Linked DNA regions of Homo sapiens: region 1 is linked to region 2. The links are contacts of gene promoters, found by promoter capture Hi-C in human tissues and cell types (Jung and others, 2019). All regions are on one chromosome and are shown on one strand. Each heading gives the region's core, a stretch centred on a gene start or on the middle of the fragment in contact. The rest is flanking DNA. Distances are from core to core; before and after follow the strand shown. Region 1 overlaps PLA2G6 (phospholipase A2 group VI). Region 2 holds the start of SOX10 (SRY-box transcription factor 10).

The links. The method cuts DNA at HindIII sites, captures the fragments that hold promoters and counts their contacts. A contact is called where the count stands out against the background at its distance.
Region 1: a fragment that was not itself captured here is called in contact with the fragment with the promoter of SOX10 in region 2 in 4 of the 25 tissues and cell types used here (dorsolateral prefrontal cortex, hippocampus, lymphoblastoid cells and 1 more).

What each region holds. Positions count from the first base shown.
Region 1 is chr22:38,172,093-38,175,292 of GRCh38, reverse strand. The region is part of intron 1 of PLA2G6 (phospholipase A2 group VI); the gene reads left to right. Among named protein-coding and RNA genes, the nearest start is that of PLA2G6, 8.1 kb to the left of the region's middle. RefSeq lists a cis regulatory region at 1,111 and an enhancer at 1,039-1,183. The HindIII fragment of the contact is 3,596 bases long and covers 1-3,200 here.
Region 2 is chr22:37,983,200-37,986,470 of GRCh38, reverse strand. It overlaps SOX10 (SRY-box transcription factor 10), which reads left to right and starts at 1,916. Exons shown (of 4, transcript NM_006941.4): 1 at 1,916-2,132; 2 at 2,603-3,114. The coding sequence starts at 2,687. It also overlaps a transcript of POLR2F not described here. RefSeq lists enhancers at 21-855, 2,810-3,271. The HindIII fragment of the contact is 28,697 bases long and covers 1-3,271 here.

The DNA.
Region 1 (3,200 bases), core at 538-3,037, 190 kb before region 2:
CAGGCTGGAAGGGCACTCTGGTGCTCTGAGCATTCAGAGGGGGCAGCTGGGCCTTGAAGGATGAGCAGGGGCTCCAGCAGGAACTGGAGAGCGCATTCCAGGGAGGACGCAAGTGCAGGCCCCTTTCACTACAGAAAAGCAGTTTTCACACAGACCTTCCAAAGGGGAGGAGAGGGGACTGCCTGGGCCTGGCAGCTGCGGCAGGTAGCAGCAATCAGAGGGCAGGGACCGCTCCTCCCGTGCCTGAGACCTGCCCAGGGTCCTTCAGGGAATTCGTAGCTGAGGAGGAACCAGATTTTTGGGACTGAGTTCTCCCTCACCACCCGCTCTGAGCCACCCTCTTGGTCCCTTGTCCTCTACTGCACTTCTTCCGGGGCTTGGCTCCTCGTCATGAGAGGAGCTTCCCTGGGCATGGCGAGGGGCGTGACTGACATAGCAGCCCTGGACAAGTGGCTCCAGGTGACCTGTGTTCACGTTGATCACAGCACTAACCACGGCCCCTCCTCTCAGCACCTTCCCCTCTCGAGCCGTCCAGTCCCAGTGAAAATGCTCACCGTTCATGGGTGGGCTGAGCAAGCCCCTGATCTCTGCCTTCCTCCGTGTTCTGATCTGCTTCATCTGCTGTGAAGGCCTCTCGCCATTTCCCCCGCTGGCAAACTCCTGTTCTTCCTGGAAAGTTCAGCTAAAAAGTCATCCCCTTTAGGGGTCCTTCCCTCAGGGGACCGTGCACTTGGCGAGACAGGGACTGGTCTTGGGTCTCTCTGTTGACTGTTTTATGAACCCAGGTAGTCACTTCCAGGGAACTCATCAGAGATGCTACCATTGGCTCCAATCTCCCTCTGTTCCCACTCGAGGTTTTTTGTTTCTTCGTTTGTTTTTCTTTCTTTCTTTTTTTTTGAGACAGAGTCTCGCTCTCGCCCAGGCTGGAGTGCAGTGACATGATCTCGGCTCACTGCAAGCTCCGCCTCCCGGGTTCACGCCATTCTCCTGCCTCAGCCTCCCGAATAGCTGGGACTACAGGCACCCGCCACCACGCCCAGCTAATTTTTTTTGTATTTTTAGTAGAGACGGGGTTTCACCATGTTAGCCAGGATGGTCTCAATCTCCTGATTTCGTGATCCGCCCGCCTTAACCTCCCAAAGTGCTGGGATTACAGGCGTGAGCCACTGCGCCCAGCCCGTTTGTTTTTGTTTTTTGGTGGACATCAACTTTAATTTGCCCTTTGTTTTGTTTTGTTTTTGAGGCAGGGTCTTGCTCTGTCTCCCAGGCTGGAGTGCAGTAGTGCAATCTTGGCTCACTGCAGTCTCGACCTCAAGAGGATCAAGCAATCCTCTTGCCTTAGCCTCCCGAGTAGCTGGGACCACAGGCGCACACCACCATGCCCAGCTAATTTTATTTTATATTTTGTAGAGACAGGGTTTTGCCATGTTCCCCAGGCTGGTCTCAAATTCCTGGGCTCAAGCAATCCGTCTGCCTCAGCCTCCCAAAATGCTGGAATTACAGGCACGAGCCACTGTGCCCGGCCTTAATTTGCCCTTTGAACATGTACAATTCAGGGCCTCTCTGGGCCTCAGTTTCTTGATCTCTGAGATGGGAAGATGGGATAATAATACTTGTTCCTCCCGTCCTTCAGCTCCTCCAGGGGACCCTCACACCAGCACACTCTCTGTCAGTCTTCCCTCAATGAACCCAGCAGGCAAGCTTGGTTTTGACAGAGGATGGGTGAGCAGAGATAAGGAAAACGGCCAGAAATATCTGGCTTCCCTCAGCAGGGGCACCAAAATTGGTACCTGGAAATTGCCTGGCTTGGACAGGCAGAATTGTCACTGTCAACCCCCACCACCAAAGGTCTTGGGTCTTTGTCTTTCTGCTTGTGGTGTTTGAGAGAGCTGCTTGACACAGCCGAGGTGCGGTCTGTGTCAGGTGACCTGGGCATCCTGGGGGTGCAGGGAGAAGCCCAGGTAAGGAGGAGGAGGGGCCGGTCATCAGTGGGGAAAAGTGATTGTCTACCCCACGGGAAGGTCAAGGGTAGGACGCTGTGAGAAGCCAGGGGGAGAGATGAAGTGAGGCATGATGCGGGGGGCCCTCATCCACCATCCCCCTCTTGCAGCTGTGCTGGGAAGAGCCTAGGCTCCAGGGTCCAAGGTGGCAGGGACAGAAGGAAGCACGTGTGAGCACTTTCTCCCTGCTGGCCCGCCTTCCTGGTTGGCAATGCCGTGAGTGTTCCAGGATGTGGCCCCGTGGCTGTCATTTCCTTTCTTCCACCTAGTGATAACAATGGCCACTGTTTGTGTGCCCACAGTCGGCCTGTGTCCCAGACACCTTCCCTCCATTGCGTCATCTCGTCCTCCTGCCTACCCTGAAGGCTGGATGCCAGCCAAGCCTGTCGTTTCTGTGGCCATGCTGTCGTGGGTGTGTGGGGGGCATCCCCTAGCCCCAGGCTCTGGTGGGGGGTACACAGGCTGGGCCATTGACGAAGGGGTGTGTGGAATCTTTCTTTGATTTCACTGCACCCCTGGTGACTTTCTCCCTCAATCTGAGGCTCATGGGTGCTGGATGCTCTTGACTCTCTGCCCTTCCTGGGCGCACCCCTCCGCGTCCCTGTGGGCCCGTCCTCGGGGTAGCCTCTCTGCGCTCTTCCAGGCCAGGCCTGAGTCCCACAGGTCCCCATCTTCCCGGCTGCAGCCCCCAGAGGCTCAGCCTATACTGCTACTTCCTTTGAAAACTATAATCGCTTTACATAGCATCTGGAAAATAGGGAAAAGGAAAAAACAAAAGCCCATAAACCCAGCACCCTCATCTACTCAATGGCATGTTTTCTGTCAGTCTATCTTGGTTTGTTTTCTATCAGGCTTTGTTTTTTCTATGCATAATATTTACTCAGTTAAATTTTTGTTTTGACAAACTTTCTGTGAGCCAAGCTTGTGGACGGAGATGAAAAGACGAGCAGCTGCCTTTGAGAAACTCAGACTCTGGGCCAGCCCATCTGGGTGCCAGCTTTCACTGCTCCACCCACTAGCTGGGTGACCCTGGGCCCGTGACTTTACCCCTCTGTTCTTTGGTGTTCTCATATGTAAAATGAGGATAATAATAGTAACCAGTTCATAGAGTGGTTGTCAGACAGAATGATTAATGTACGTAAAGCTTTCAGGATGGTGCCAGCAAGATGCACAGGAGTGTTTGGTAGGAGGATGACGAAG
Region 2 (3,271 bases), core at 667-3,166:
ACCCCACATTCCACCTCCTAACTCTGGGCTCTTTCCTTCCACAACCACCCCTCCTGCCCCAGGCGGGTCTCAGGCCAGTCACAGACACAGCAGAGAGCGGGGAGGTCCTTTCCTCAAAGAGGAGGAACTGAGGGGTGGAAGGATGAGTGGGGACCCACCGGGAGAGAGAGATGCCAGGCAGGCAGGCAGCGGGCGGGCAGCAGCGGGTGTTGGAGGCGACTGCAGGGCAGCCGGGACACGACGGCAGATGCTCGTCCCTCGTCCCTCTGTCCATCCAGGGCGGCTCCTCTCCGGGCGGTTCTGAGGCCGAGCGGGCGCTGTTAAAAAGCTTTTTATGTGTGTGTGTGTTAATCACATGATTGCCGTTCACCTGTATTTCGAACAAAGACAGCTCACTGTTTCAAGGCCCCGAACAAGAGTCTGGGCACAGGGAAGAGAAGGGAGGCGGGGGGAGGAGGGTTGGCAGCGCCGGGGGTGGCGTCGAGGAAAACTGGGGGGAGATTGTCCAAGGCCAGCAAGCGAGAGAAAGAGAAAACCCTTATCAAACTCCTAATTCACTGGGCTCCGAGGCCCCAGACACACTGGCCCGATTGTCTGGCTGGTTGTGTGTGTGAGCATGTGTGTGTGTGTGTGTGTGTGTGTGTGTGTGTGTTCCAGTGTCTGCTCCCCCCACCCCCAACATGCCTCTGCCTCGTGTGACTACCTCATTGTGTCCCATTTCCCACCCCCTACACCCCTTTGGACTTTCCCAAGCATGAGGCCTTGCCTCCCCAGACCCTTTGCAGCCCACTCCAGACAGGACCCCTTGGGGTGGTCTTGGGGCTTTGCCCTGCTGTTGAGGAGCTCAGAACGTCACATGGTTGCCAATGCGACCCCAGCTCCATTACATAACCCACATACACCCCACCTCGGCCTCAACACCCCGGCGGGGCTGCCCTCAGTTAAGAGAACAGCACTGCGACCTTTGGAGGAGAGGCCAAGGAAAGAGAGAGAAAAAGGTGTCAACGGAGGATGGGCAGGAAAGAAAAGGGGAGGGAGGGAGAGGTGGGCAGAGGAGGGAAGAGGCAGGGCAAGTCCCCACCCCTTGTTGGGGTGGGGGAGTAGAGGACTTCGTGACAATCAGGACTAGGACTCCCCTACCCTCTCCCAAGACAGGGTGAGCCCAGTGTGGAAGGAGCTGGGTCCCAGTAGGTAGCAACCCAAAATGCCTCTAAGACCTACTGAGAGAGGGCCCCCAACCTGTCCCACCTTGGCCTCCTGGCAGCTTTAGTCTTGTGTTTCCACCTTGAACCAGACCAGAACGCGCGTGTGCTGGGTGTCTGCAGAGAAGGGACCAGGGGTCAAGCTGGGGCTCTGCACTTCTCAGAGGGATCCCTGAGAAGTCTCTCTTACTGTGCAGGATGGGGCAGAAAGGGCTGCCTGGGAAAAGGTAGGAGGCAGGGTGAGGAGCTGGGCATCAGTGCCTGGCACACACTAGGCACTCAACAGGATTTCGCAGACGAAGCAGCTAGGGCCAGCCACCCTCACGGGCCCCCAGGACCCTCACCGCCTTCACGTCTCTCCCTAGTCCCCTGCCAAGTGCCCATCCTGCCACCTGAGGCAGACGTTAGGAGTCCTGGTTGGGCCCAATTTTCTTCCATCCAACAGGTTCTGACCCTCCAGCCTACATCTCTTCCTTCCTCGGCCTAACCTCCCCTCCACCTCCCAGACTAAGCCCAAGATAAGCCTCAGCAAGATGGGCCTGGGCAGTAGGGCAGGGAGCTGGGTGGGGGGGCCTGGGCTCCGGGTGGAGGAGCCCTGAGTGTTGGGGATGAAGGAAAGCCTGGAGGCTCCACCTTCTGCCCTTCCCTCCCTCCTCTCCCCTCCCCCCTCTCCCCCTCCTTCCTTCCCCAGCCCTCCGCAGCGGCTCAGGCTCAGTCGCTCAGTCAGTCTCGGGCTGTCCGGCCAGGGTGGTTGGTGGTAAGGATTCAGGCTCCGTCCTAACGAGGCCGTGGCCTGAGGCTCAGGGCCCCCCGCCCCTCCCTCCCAGCCCACCAGCGTCACCTCCCAGCCCCGAGCTGGACCGCACACCTTGGGACACGGTTTTCCACTTCCTAAGGACGAGCCCCAGACTGGAGGAGAGGTCCGAGGAGGTGAGTGCGCAGCCTGCTCCTCCCTGGCCCGCCCAGGCCTGGGACCCTGCTGTGAGGTGGAGAGAGGCGACACCCCGCCCTTGCCCCCCACCTGGCTCTCCTCTAAACCCCGTTGGGGCAGGCTGAGGGAAGAAGGAAAGGTGAGAGAAAAGGTGGGAAATTCCAGGGGCCGGGATTAGAGCAAAATAAAGGCTCCGTTTTTTTCTTCCTTATCATCAACAAACCTCCACCCAAAAAAGGAGGCTAAAAAAAAAGCCACCCACACCAAGAGACGGTTGGGACCAGGTGGTGGGAAGACACAGAGGCGGGACGCACCCACCTAGAGTCTGGCATGTGCGTGGGCCCCAGGGGCCAGATGGGTTTAGCTGGAGCAGGAAGGGCCGCCACCTCGGGGCTGTGCCCACGTCCTGTCTCGGGCCGCCCTCGGGGCTGCGCGCGCGGCCGCTCCATCGCGCCCTCCTTCCATCCAGGTGGGCGTTGGACTCTTTGCGAGGACCCCGGCGGCTGGCCCGGGGGAGGCGGCCGAGGCGGCGGCGGCGGCGGCCGGGGGCGACATGGCGGAGGAGCAGGACCTATCGGAGGTGGAGCTGAGCCCCGTGGGCTCGGAGGAGCCCCGCTGCCTGTCCCCGGGGAGCGCGCCCTCGCTAGGGCCCGACGGCGGCGGCGGCGGATCGGGCCTGCGAGCCAGCCCGGGGCCAGGCGAGCTGGGCAAGGTCAAGAAGGAGCAGCAGGACGGCGAGGCGGACGATGACAAGTTCCCCGTGTGCATCCGCGAGGCCGTCAGCCAGGTGCTCAGCGGCTACGACTGGACGCTGGTGCCCATGCCCGTGCGCGTCAACGGCGCCAGCAAAAGCAAGCCGCACGTCAAGCGGCCCATGAACGCCTTCATGGTGTGGGCTCAGGCAGCGCGCAGGAAGCTCGCGGACCAGTACCCGCACCTGCACAACGCTGAGCTCAGCAAGACGCTGGGCAAGCTCTGGAGGTGAGCACCCGACCGCCCCCCGGGCTCGGGCCCTCTAGCTTCGGGTGGATTCAGGGTAGCCGAGGCGGCCCGGCCTCCTGCACCTCAGAGCGGGACTGTCTGGCAGTCCTCCTTGGATAGGGCTGGAAGACCAGGTGTGGGGGCCGCGCCCGCCCTT